2 separate regions of the Homo sapiens genome follow, and region 1 is linked to region 2. The links are contacts of gene promoters, found by promoter capture Hi-C in blood cells and fetal thymus (Javierre and others, 2016). All regions are on one chromosome and are shown on one strand. The core of a region is centred on a gene start or on the middle of the fragment in contact, and the rest is flanking DNA. Distances in the headings are between cores, read along the strand shown. Region 1 overlaps PCBP3 (poly(rC) binding protein 3). Region 2 holds the start of PCBP3 (poly(rC) binding protein 3).

Region 1 (6,320 bases), core at 1,529-4,028, 280 kb after region 2:
TGCTGGGGGAAGAAGTTACCCTCAGATAAACGGTCGGTGTAATTCCAGTGCTGGGGGAAGAAGTTACTCTCAGATAAACCGTCGGTGTAATTCCAGTGCTGGAGGAAGAAGTTACTCTCAGATAAACGGTCGGTGTAATTCCAGTGCTGGGGGAAGAAGTTACTCTCAGATAAACGGTCGGTGTAATTCCAGTGCTGGGGGAAGAAGTTACCCTCAGATAAACGGTCGGTGTAATTCCAGTGCTGGGGGAAGAAGTTACCCTCAGATAAACCGTCGGTGTAATTCCAGTGCTGGGGGAAGAAGTTACCCTCAGATAAACCGTCGGTGTAATTCCAGTGCTGGGGGAAGAAGTTACTCTCAGATAAACCGTCGGTGTAATTCCAGTGCTGGAGGAAGAAGTTACTCTCAGATAAACGGTCGGTGTAATTCCAGTGCTGGGGGAAGAAGTTACCCTCAGATAAACCATTGGTGTAATTCCAGTGCTGAGGGAAGAAGTTACCCTCAGATAAACCACTGGTGTAATTCCAGTGCTGGAGGAAGAAGTTACTCTCAGATAAACCGTCGGTGTAATTCCAGTGCTGGAGGAAGAAGATACTCTCAGATCATCCATCGGAGGGGAACCCTGGGCGGCTCTGGGCTGTGCGGCTCAGACCCCTTAGGGGCCAAGAGATAAAAGGTGCAAACTGTGAGCAAAGGGCCTCTCTGGAGGCGGCTTTAGGGCCCCCAGGGAGTGACGGCCGCACTGGCAGGCACTGGGGAGAGGAGAGGGGAGAGCAACAGAGAACGAGAGACAGACGGCCCCACCGGAAGTGCTTCGTGCTGTCAGCAGATGGGGCAAACCTGGAGTTGGTTCTGAGGAGGTTTCTCTTCTCTAAACCATTTTGAACGTTTGCCCAGCTCAGTAGCTGCTCCTCGTAACGCAGTTCCAGTCTGTGTGCTGCTCCCTCTGAACTGCGAGAGGCGCCTCTGAGCTGGTTGGGAGGTGGCCGCCAGGTGAGCGGGCTGCTCCAGAGCCTTCTGCAAACCCTGATGCTTTTGAGTTGGGGGCAAGGACGTCCATCTGAGTGAGATGAGAAGGCAGGTCAGGAGTGTTTTTAAGAGTTAATGAACATTAAATAAATCTTTGATATAGAGATGCAATTTACTATCATTGCAGGAAAATTTATATTGAATGGAGAATAGATAACAATAGTTATTCCATTAAAGGCAACACATGAATCAAATGGTAGAGAAACGCTGATCAAGAAAAGCCTTTCCCCACCTGCCCCAGAGGCCGTTTTTAGTGGTTCCTGGCGTCAGACCTTTGGTGATGCTGCTGTAGCTACATCAAGGACATCTCATCCTGGGGTCAGCTGTAGACACCAGTGCCTGACCCCACTAGGAAGCCGGGCTGTGGCCACCACACACCGGAAGGCACTGTTGGGGCTGCCCCAGCCTGCGCCCAGCAGCAGCGTTGGGCAGAAGCAGAGGTGTGTGTGTGTGTGTGTGTGTGCGCGCGCGCGTGCGCGTCCCCGTGCATGTGTGTGGCAGGGGTGTGGGGGGCAGGTGTGATGTGTCCTAACAGAAAGCCTGTGTGAAGGAAGATGAAGATGGAAGCCAGGGGAGTCAGAGGCGACTTTCTGGGGTGGCCCAGTTCCATTAAGGACTCAGGACAGGTGGTCACGCACATCTAGAGATGCACGTGTGCAGAGGCAGGTTCCAAAGGGGGGGTCACTTGACTTTGCAAAGCTCTGGAACCCAAAGGAAAGGCAGTGTGCGGTGCCCTTGGTAAAGGGAAGGTTAGTCGATGGGGTCAGGGTTTGTGTTTACCCCAGACAGTCGCCCTGAAGTTGGATGCTCAGACCTGCAGGGACCCTCTGGTGACACCTTACGGATTTCCTGTGGCCACAGAGCCTAACGTTCTCACTGTGGCCTTTGGCTGAGCACCCGTCTGAGCCAGAATGCTTGTGGTCTGAAATTTCCAGAGGCCGTGGCTGTGTGCCACGGTGGGACTGCAGGACCCTGATGTTTGGTGATTGGCTTTTACTTCGATTGGTGGCTTTGCTCTTTCTCATGTGACTTTCTCAGTATCTCTTAGAAATGGGTAGTTGTGCAGATTGTTTCAAATTAGTTTAATGTATAACTAACTGTTAAGAGAACTGCCTCAGTGCATGTGGTAATGATTTGAGATACCTGGTGCTATGGTTTAAATATGTCTATTCCTCCACAATTTCTCTGTTGGAACCTAATCACCAAGGTGACAGTATTAGAGGGTGGGGGGTCCCAGGGCTGGGGAGTGATTGGGTCATGAGCGCTCCACCCTCGTGAACAGCATTGGTGCCCCTATAACAGAGGCCTCAGATAACAGAGGCTTCAGATAACAGAAGCTTCAGAGAGTGGCCTCCCCTCCATCCCTCCTGTCATGTGAGGACAAGAGCGTTCAGGCACCATATTGAAAGCAGAGACTTGGCCCTTCCCATACACCAAACCAGCCAGCACTTTGATCTCCAGTTTCCAGCCCCCATAACTGTGAGCCACACATTTATGCTGTTTCTGAATTGCCCGGTCTAAGGCATTTTGTCATAGCAGCAGGAGTGGACTAAGGCGCTTGGTTCTTTACTGTGAAGTATCTCTCTGTGGAAGACATTCTGTTTCTACATCGGTGTCATGAGATTTGCAGAGCAGCTGTTATTAATAGAAGACTGGAAGCTTCCATGGTGCTTTTCTTGCAGGCGTGTAAAATTGAAGACTTGGACAATCACTTAATCATTAAACACAAAAATAAAATGATTGTTTAGTGACATAGGTAACAATAGTCAGGAAGCAATTTGTATCTGAGCTTGGTATTTAGTAGAAATTTTTAAAGCATCGGTATTTAGTAGAAATTTTTAAAGCTTCAATTTCTTACTATATCAATATAATTATAGAATATGTTGTTTTAATTTATAATGTAATTGAATACAAAGTTTATTTATACCACAGTGCCGGCTTATATACAGATACTAGAGTCATTTTTTAGGAACGTGATATTTGACCTGGATGTGTGGGCCCATGAATAAGAAACATCAAGCATAAGAAAATACATTCCTTAGGTTTGAGTATTTCTTTATGTAAAACTAAAATATGCATGTGTTTTCTGTGCCCAGTTTTAAAAAGTGTTTTTAGCTTGTTCTTATTTAAGAATCATCTGGGCTGGGCATGGTGGCTCAGGCTGGGTGTGGTAGCTCAAGCCTGTAATCCCAGCCCTTTGGGAGGCTGAGGCAGGTGGATCGCTTGAGCTCAGGAGTTTGAGACAAGCCTGGCCAACATGGCGAGACCCCGTCTCTACCAAAAATACAAAAAAATTTAGCCAGACGTGGTGGCACACGCCTGTAGTCCCAGCTACCCGGGAGGCTGAGGCGAGAGGATTGCCTGAGCCCGGGAGGTGGAGGTTGCAGTGAGCCAAGATCATCCCTCTGCACTCCAGCCTGGGCGACAGAACGAGACCCGTTTCAAAAAAAAAAGGAGTCATCGGCACTGATCTGCCTTCGCCTGCTTTTCTCCAGCTCCTCACACGCCACATGCATCATTTTACCCACGTCCTCCTCGAGGCTTACTGTGCTCTGGATGTGCAGGTGTTTTGAAGAGGCACAGAGCTGCTCGACAGGGTGAAGGACTTAGGAGGACTGAAGTCAGGCTCTCCAGTATGGCCACTCGGCAGCCCTGGAGACTATCCATGTGCCTCTGTGTGTCCTGCCTGGGTCAGACCAAGTGCAGTTTCAGAAATGAGAAAGAGAAACAGCACCTGAGACCTGGGACCTGAGAGCAGAGCCGAGAGCGCCCACACCTGGACAGACTGCTTGACTCTCACCCAGCACGTCTGCACCTTTAATTACAGCGGGGAAGTTACACCAGGAAGGAATTGTTTTTTCTGGAAGAAATGAGTGAACTTCAAAAATACCCTCATAGGCCAGGTACAGTGGCTCTCTCCTGCGATCCCAGCACTTTGAGAGGCCAAGATGGGAGGATTGCTTGAGCCCAGGAGTTGGAGACCAGGTTGGACAAAAGAGCAAGACCCCATTTCTACAAAAAAATACAGAAATTAACTGGGTGTGGTGGCACACACCTGGAGTCCCAGCTACTCAGGAGGCTAAGGTGGGGCAGTTACCTGAGCTCCGGCAGTCGAGACTGTAGTGAGCAGAGATTGCACCACTGCACTCCAGCCTGGGCGACAGAGCAAGACCCTGTCTCAAAAAAAGAAAAAATACCCTCATATATACAAATCTTTATTTCTAGTCTTCCAGCTCTCCTAATCACTCCCTTACTTAACGTCCCCATCATTTAAAGGGGATGTTGAAAGCAAGCAAAAATAAAAACATGTTAGAGTTGACGAAGAGTTTGCCATGTAGGCGATTTTAGATGAGCCTTTGCACCAACCCTGTGAGGCAGATCTCAGGACCGTGGGGCCAGTTCCACACACGAGGAAGTGGAAGCTCTGAGAGGTGCCTTGGCCAGAGCTAATGAGCCAGGGAATGGGAGGGCTTGGCACAGCCGCCCAGGCAGCTGGACGTGAGTGGCAGATGTGCAGCAACGCTGGGAATCAAGCGGACACCAGTGTCTACTAAGAAGCTGGTTCTTCAGTGAAAGAGTCGTGGGGAAATTGTAGAAATGTGTCGTTGTAAGTGGGAGCCAGGGATGGGAGGCACGACCAGATCCTGTGCTGGATGCGGCCCTTCATCCCAGCTGTGCAATCCCCGGGACTCTGTCGGTGCCACGCATTTCCCCTGGACACATGAAGGGCACGCGTGGGCTCTTGTGACAATCTCATGCACTTGCAGAGATTTGGGCAGATTGTTGCAGAGTGCTTTCTCCTCCCACTTGTTCTGTGTCTCCCTCTGGAACCCTGTGGGGAGGTGGGTGAGGGGTCCCCTCACTGTAGTGAGAGAGTAGTCAATGCCGCATGCTCTGGGCACATGCCGAGGGGCCCAGCCTCTCTCACTCTGAAGCCTGGCACCTTCCAAGACCTTGCAGCTGCAAGTGGTGCAGCGGCTTGCCCATGGCCCCACCTGCTGTCAGAGCTGTGCTACTGCAGCCACTCCTTTCATGAAACAAGAGGCCCAGGCAACCCTCACTGCTGGCTGGAGTTCCATCTTTCCTTGCTTGGAACACCGCACCCTCTGCAGGGCCCCAGTGGCACGGCTCTCACATGCTGTTCCTCCCAGCTTGCCCTTCTCAGAACGAGACTTTGCATCTTTACAGGACCCTCGGGCGACTCACTGGCCCGTGGAGGTCTGAGAAACACTAGTCAGGAGGCCTGAGAAGGAAGAACATGCATCCAGTTGGAAGCCCAGGGGAGACATGGAATGGAGAGAGAAAATTCCAAGAGACACACAGAGAACCTTCCAAAATTAGAGAAACCATCAACAATTCCCAAACAGGATAAACAAATAATACAAATAAACTCGACCTGGAACAGTTGAGTGGATAGAAACAGCACACGTAAGATCGGGTGTGCACGAGGAGATGCGAACACCGGGAACAGTCGAGTGGGTAGAAACAGCACACGTAAGATCGGGTGTGCACGAGGAGATGCGAACACCGGGAACAGTCGAGTGGGTAGAAACAGCACACGTAAGATCAGGTGTGCACGAGGAGATGCGAACACCGGGAACAGTCGAGTGGATAGAAACAGCACACGTAAGATCGGGTGTGCACGAGGAGATGCGAACACCGGGAACAGTCGAGTGGGTAGAAACAGCACACGTAAGATCGGGTGTGCACGAGGAGATGTGAACACCGGGAACAGTCGAGTGGGTAGAAACAGCACACGTAAGGTCGGGTGTGCACGAGGAGATGTGAACACTGGGAACAGTCGCGTGGGTAGAAACAGCACACGTAAGGTCGGGTGTGCACGAGGAGATGTGAACACTGGGAACAGTCGCGTGGATAGAAACAGCACACGTAAGATCGGGTGTGCGTGAGGAGATGCGAACACCGGGAACAGTCGCGTGGGTAGAAACAGCACACGTAAGATCGGGTGTGCGTGAGGAGATGCGAACACCGGGAACAGTCGAGTGGATAGAAACAGCACACGTAAGATCGGGTGTGCACGAGGAGATGCGAACACCGGGAACAGTCGCGTGGGTAGAAACAGCACACGTAAGATCGGGTGTGCGTGAGGAGATGCGAACACCGGGAACAGTCGAGTGGATAGAAACAGCACACGTAAGATCGGGTGTGCGTGAGGAGATGCGAACACCGGGAACAGTCGAGTGGATAGAAACAGCACACGTAAGATCGGGTGTGCGTGAGGAGATGCGAACACCGGGAACAGTCGAGTGGGTAGAAACAGCACACGTAAG
Region 2 (6,175 bases), core at 290-2,789:
TGCTCGGGGGGCCGCGTGGGGTCTGTGACGTCGCCTCGAGGCTGCATCCCGGTGACCCGGCAGCCCCTGGCGCTCGCGGGAGGCGGGCGGGCGCGGACCCCAGGCTTTAGGGCGCGATTCCTGCAGCTGGCTGCCGGCCCGAGGTTCTGGGGTGTCTGAGGTCTCGGGCGGGGCGAGGACGTTTCTCCGGCTCAGCCCCCCCACCTCCTGCCCTGCCGCCCCCCACACCCAGCTCCCCACGGACGCCAAGAGGCGCCTCCCACCCCGGCGAGGACCCGCGGGGAAACGGGGCCCAGGCGCGGCGACTGCGGAGGACGCGCCTCGGCCCCAGCGCCCTGGTCCTCGGGGCGTCCGGCTGCCCTTGCCCGAGGCCGGGGCGGGCGCTCAGCGCCGCGGAAGAAACGCCCGGGCGGGGACGCACAGCGAGGCGGGCTCCGCGGGAAGTACCGGGAAAACGGCGCGGAGCGGAACAGCCCGGAGCCAGCCCAGAGAAAGGGCGGCCTCCCCCTGCAGCCCCCGGGGCCCAGCAACGCCCCGCCCCAGGCCACGGCACGCGAACGCCGGGCGGGCGGAGGGGACAGGGCGGCGGGACCAGCGCGGGGCGGGCAGCGTCTGGGCACAGGCTCACGAGCCGCTCGGGGCCCCTGCCCGCCGGGCGCTGCGGCCCCAGCCTCCGGGCCGGGGCCAGGCCCACAGAGAACGGGAAGCGGGCGCTGCAGGGGGACCTTCGGGGTTGCGGCACGGCTGGGAATTCAACGGCCATTCCCGTCCCGTCGGGCCCACCCGCCCGCCCGCCAAATCCCCGCCCACCGCGGATCCGCCCCGTCCACCAAGGTCTCGCTCACCAACGGCCCGCCCCGCCCACCACAGGCCTGGCCCGCCCACGAAGGCTCGCCCCGCCCATCCACGGCCCTGCCCACCACAGGCCCGCCCCAAGCCTGGGCCCCGCCCCAGCAAGGGCACTAATCCCCTAACCCCCGAGCCCCGCCCACTGCTCTTGCCCTTCTCCCGCCCGCCCCGACTTAGGCCTCTCCCCGGCCTGGCCTCCCGTACTCAGCCCCGCCCCTGCCCCGCCCCCACCCCACCCCAAATGTGACCTGCCCCTCCCACTGCCCGTCCCCTCCCCGCTTCACTTCATTAGGCCCCCGCCCCGATTCTTGCCCCGCCCGCTCAATGTCCCGCCTACGACCCCGCCCACTACTAGTGACCGGCCCGCCCGTTCGAGGCCCCGCCTCCTCCCCGCCCAATGCTCGGCCCCGCCCCGCGCGTCATTGGGCCAGGTCCCCGCCCCGCCCCCAGCCCCACCCCCGCCCCTTTGACTGGAGTTGGCTTTTTCCAGAGAACTTTCCGGGCTCGGATTGGCCGCGCCGGTTGATGTTCCGCCCTTTCATTGGCCCGCGGCGCCCGCTTTCGCGAGCCTGCCCTTGGGCGGGGGCGGGGCCGGCGGCGGCGCGCGGCGCTAGATTGGTTAGCGGCGCAGAGGGGCGGGCCCGCGCCGCGCGCAGCGCTCGGGCTGGAGCGCCTGAAGCCGCGACCGCCGCCTCAGCCGCCTCAGCCGCGGTCGCCGCCGCTTCGGCTGACTTAGGCTCCGCCGCCGCCTCCTCACCCGCCTCGCCCCGACCCCGCCCGGGCCTCCCGGCCTCTCCCCGCCGGCCCGCGGGCTCGCCGTCCGGCGCAGGGCAGGTGAGTGAGCGGTGGCGGGCGGGGTCGGGGTCGGGCGCCCTTGCGGGTTACGGGGACCCAGTCCCCGACGGAGGCCGAGTGACGGGGCGACCCCGGGCCGCGGCAAACTTCGCCCGAGCCGGGGCGGGCGGGGGTCCCGGGCTGGGTCGCGCCGTCCCCGACCGCCGCCGGCGCCTGCGGCGGCCCGGGGCAGCGAGGGGACTCGCGCTCCCTCAAGGTGCGGTCGCCAGGCCTGGCCCGCCCGCCTCCGCCCCCTCCCCAAATTCGGAAGTTGCGGCGGGAAGCCGAGAACGTCTCGGATGTGGGTCAGAAAACGTCTGGACTACTTGAGGCTTCAGTTTCAAAACGGCACAAATTTCATCTCTTGATTGAGAAGAGATCTGGGGAACACCCCGGAGCGGCCGCGGCGGCTGGAGGGCGGCGGGGCGGGGCGCGGGGCCTCCTCCCCCTGGACGGCCGCCGGGAGAGCGCGGCCTCACCCCTCGGTGACCCTGCGGAGAGCCGCGCGCGGGCGGTGGGGCGCGCGCAGGTCTCTCTTGTTGCTCGCTGTGTTTTATTTTAATTTTGGGGGTGGTTAGAACGTGTTTCTTATTGTCCCCACACGTGTTCTAATTGGAAGTCTTGTTTCGTGAAAGAGTTTTTTTCTTTTTTTTGCCTGGTGATGTTTTCCAATTCCCTCCGCGCCACTCTGAAGTATATTACTGGCATAAGAAATTTGAAAGTTAACCAAAAGTCGGGTCCTAAATCTCGTGGCTCGGGGTTGGTTATCTTCCACCGTCCTTCAGAGCAGCCTGGATTTGCAGGTCTTGTTAGCCCTCCATGTGAGCCAGTAGCACTCTTAGTTGTTGAGTGTTTGTAGAGTGGGATTCGCCAGAAGGAATCTTGAGCAGCAGGGCCTTGCGGAGAGGCCTTTAGAGATTAGACTGGGCAACTTATAGACTCCCCCCATTTCAAAAATATTCCTCTGGCACAGGCCCTCACATATCCCTCTGAAATTGAACTCACTTTCAGGGGCAAACTGTTGCCCTTTTTCTTTTCTTTGGACTTTCTCAGATGTGGATCCCAAAGGAGTGTGCAAGGGTGCTTCCCTATTTAAGAGAACTAACTCCCAGTCCTCCTCATATTCAAGAATAATTCATCATCTTAAAGCGTGTCAGAGATACCTATTTTGGCCCCAAAAGGAGTGTTTGTAGAACAGTGGCACTCTAAAGGGATCATTTGCAAGATCTGAAAGGACCTAATTGATCATCACACGACAGAAGCAGAAATAGTTCTGGTGTTTTCAGGCTTGGAGATCTGTCAGAAAACATGGGGCCTTAAAACTAACAAGTGCAGTGACCGACTAACTGATGTCTCACTTTCGAGCAGTATTTTTTTTTTTTGCTTGTATGTAGATGCTGTTGTTTATACAGTGCAAGTTCATTACGAATGGTTTAGAACTTACGTAGCTTCACGTATTTTCTTAGTTGATAATATTATAAGGTTTTGAAAAAGTTTTGATGATAAATGGGGTCTTTATAACTGAAAAAAATGGACTCTGTCTAGAATTCAGGGCTTTTTGGCTGGCGTTGCCCCAGGTGCTGCTGATTAGTGGTGCTTTTGGACCTCAAAACATCACTTTCCCAGATATCTTTATAATGCTCATGGTGGGGGAAAACCCACACAGCTTTGTGGTTACGTTTTTAGCTATTTATGCGAAAAAGTTCAACATATAGTTGTATTTTGCTAGCTGTTTTGAAGAAGCTATTCTTTACCCTATTGTTCTGAGGAGGCTGACAGCATGCTGCATTTATAAATTTGAAAAAGCCTCACGAGCTTCTTGAACCAATCTAGCTATTCAGATTTGGATTCTGTGTATCAGTTTTGATTATTTCAGTTCCTGTGTCAATGGCAGAATCATTTCTATTTTTACAAAAGTCTCATGGCTTTATTGTAAAGGTGAACACTGAAACAGATTTTAGTAGATGTAAGTTGTGTATCCTCTCAGTGAAGAAGGCAGTGCTTTGGGCCATAACCAAGGAAAATACTTGCTCATGTATTGGAATTGCCCCAACTTAAACATTAGAATAAATGCTGTAGATTTTGGGGCAGCTCTGATGTCTCAGCTCTCATCCCTGGTGGCAGTGACTCAGAGGCAAGGCGTCATGGGCCCGCTGTCCATGGTGCTGAATCCGTGTCACCTGTTTCTCTCTCTCTCTCTCTCTCTCTCTCTCTTTCTCTCTCTCTCTCTCTCTCTCTCTGTGTGTGTGTGTGTGTGTGTGTGTGTGTGTGTGTGTGTTTTGGGGCAGGGGGAGCTCAAACTTCCTTTCCAGTGTACTTTAAAATTAATTTCAGAATTCATATTATTAAATAAAATTTGATCAGGGAAATTATGTTGAATGGGAGCGTGTCTTGAAAACACGCCATTTTATTCTTCTTTTTAAGGAGGATAATTATGCTACAACATTCAATTTCCTTTGCTTAGTCTTCACTGTCTCTCTAGGTGGGAGTTTTGTTGCTTGAGTATGGGCATCAAGTAACAAATCACTGACATTAAATGAAACCCTGTTTTCTTAACAACCATTCCTTTAAGAAAGTACCAGTTTGTTTTAGTTTGTTTTCTTTTGCTTATAACAGAATACCTGAAACTAGGTAATTTACAAAGCAAAGGAATTTATTTCTTATAGTCATGGAGGCTGAGAAGTCTAAGGTCCGGGGGCCAAAGCCACCAGCTCCACTCCCATGACAACCCACTAATCCATTAACCCATGAATGGATTAATCCATTTTATGAGGGCAGAGCCCTCTTGATCCAATCACCTCTTAAAGGTCCCACCTCTCAATACTGCTTCTGCATTGAGGATTACATTTCAGCATGAGTTTTGGAGGGGATATTCTAATCATAGCACCTTTATTACAATATAGACATACATCTGTAGGCATATATCTATGTAGGGGCAACTTGTTCCCAAAAGGGTTGACTCTAGCATGTTTTGCATTCTCCAGCATGTTGGTTCTCAGCCTTTCCTGGCGATGGGATCTGTTTATGTGTTGGGCTACTGAGTGGTTGCCAGGCATTCCTGTTGTGTTAGAGCTATATCTACTCTCTTTTCTCTAATATTGAGGACATCTTTGTAAATCATTTTACATGAATCTTTTCTTTCTCTTGAGGTTAATGTTGTCAGTTACTTTAGAATTGCCCCACAGGTTAGCAGTAAAAAAAAAACAAAAAAGATAGATGTCACTTGTGGTACAGAGATGTCACATGGTAGTAAGTTGTATATCAAGCTAAGCAGTGGATTGTTGAGGTGCTTTTTGTTATGATCATCTGAACTGATTCTGTGGCCCCATTTGTTGTACACTTAACCCAGGTTACTCTTTGACATCTCTTTTGTTGACAGAAACTCAGGAAAACTTCCTTCTGCCTCATCCAAGCTTCAGAAATACTCCCTGATTCCCTACTGTTTGCCATTTCCTATGCTATGATCTGGGAACCCATGAGGGAATGAGACAGAGTTCTTATTGAAGGGCTCACCTGTTCGGATTGAGGAAGGAACATGTAAACAGATAATTACAGGGGGCCATACTCAGTGCTGCAGTTGGGATACATAGAAAACCAGGCAAACGTGTTGAGGGGCAATTCATTTGGGCCGAGAATCAGGGAAAGCTTTAGAGAGGAGGTGGCCTTTGGGCTGGACCCTAGGGCATGAGTTATAATTGGGCATGGATTGGGTATACATTTATTAGAAAAAGACTGGAAGGTTGGAATAACCGGAGTACAGAGTGTGTAGTGGTGTGGAGGCTGGAGGTATGGAAGCATAGTGAAGGAGTTGGGACCCTGCTGGAAGTGTTAGGGGCATTGTGAAATGGTTGGAACTTTGTTGGAGATGGAGGGGGGTGAAAGTGGAGGAGGAGTTGCATGGTAGGTAGAATAATGGCTCATAAAGCTGTCCACATCCTAATCTCAGGACTATGTTATGTTACATGGCAGGGGAGTTAAGGCAGCAGATGGAATGAGGTTGCTAATCAGCTGATTTTAAAATAGGGAGATTATCCTGGATTATCTGGGTGGGCTCTGAGTAATCACAAGGGTTCTTAAAAGTAGAAGAGAGAGGCAGAATAGTCAGTGTCAGAGTGATGTGAGGTGAGAAAGACTCTAGCTGCCATTGCTGGCTTTGAAGATGGAAGGGTGCACTAGTCAAGGAATGTGGGAAGCCTTTGGAAAAGGCAAGAAAAGGGATTCTGTCCCCTAGAGACTTGGGAAAGGAATGCAGTCCTTGGTTTCTAGCCCAGTGAGACCCTTGTCTGACTTGTGACCTCCAAAACTGTAAGATAAATGTTTGTTGTATTAAAACACTAAGTGTCTGGAAGTTTGTTCCAACAGCAGTAAGAAACCGATAAAAACTGGGTCTCTTCATTTGGCAGTCTTAGCTGACAAAATTAAGGAGGGAATAACATGATTAGATTGGTTTTAGAAGATAAAATGATGGAGCTGCCACTTGGGTATAATTCAG

Evidence for each region. The method cuts DNA at HindIII sites, captures the fragments that hold promoters and counts their contacts. A CHiCAGO score of 5 or more calls a contact.
Region 1: a contact is called between a fragment that was not itself captured here and the fragment with the promoter of PCBP3 in region 2, in 1 of 17 cell types (naive CD4 T cells). The highest score is 5.8, in naive CD4 T cells.

What each region holds. Positions count from the first base shown.
Region 1 is chr21:45,918,346-45,924,665 of GRCh38, forward strand. All of the region lies in intron 13 of PCBP3 (poly(rC) binding protein 3), which reads left to right. Among named protein-coding and RNA genes, the nearest start is that of COL6A1, 60 kb to the right of the region's middle. RefSeq lists an enhancer at 830-1,329. The HindIII fragment of the contact is 185 bases long and covers 2,687-2,871 here.
Region 2 is chr21:45,642,186-45,648,360 of GRCh38, forward strand. It overlaps PCBP3 (poly(rC) binding protein 3), which reads left to right and starts at 1,540. Exons shown (of 18, transcript NM_001384156.1): 1 at 1,540-1,683. RefSeq lists silencers at 745-1,734, 2,055-2,194. The HindIII fragment of the contact is 8,393 bases long and covers 1-5,094 here.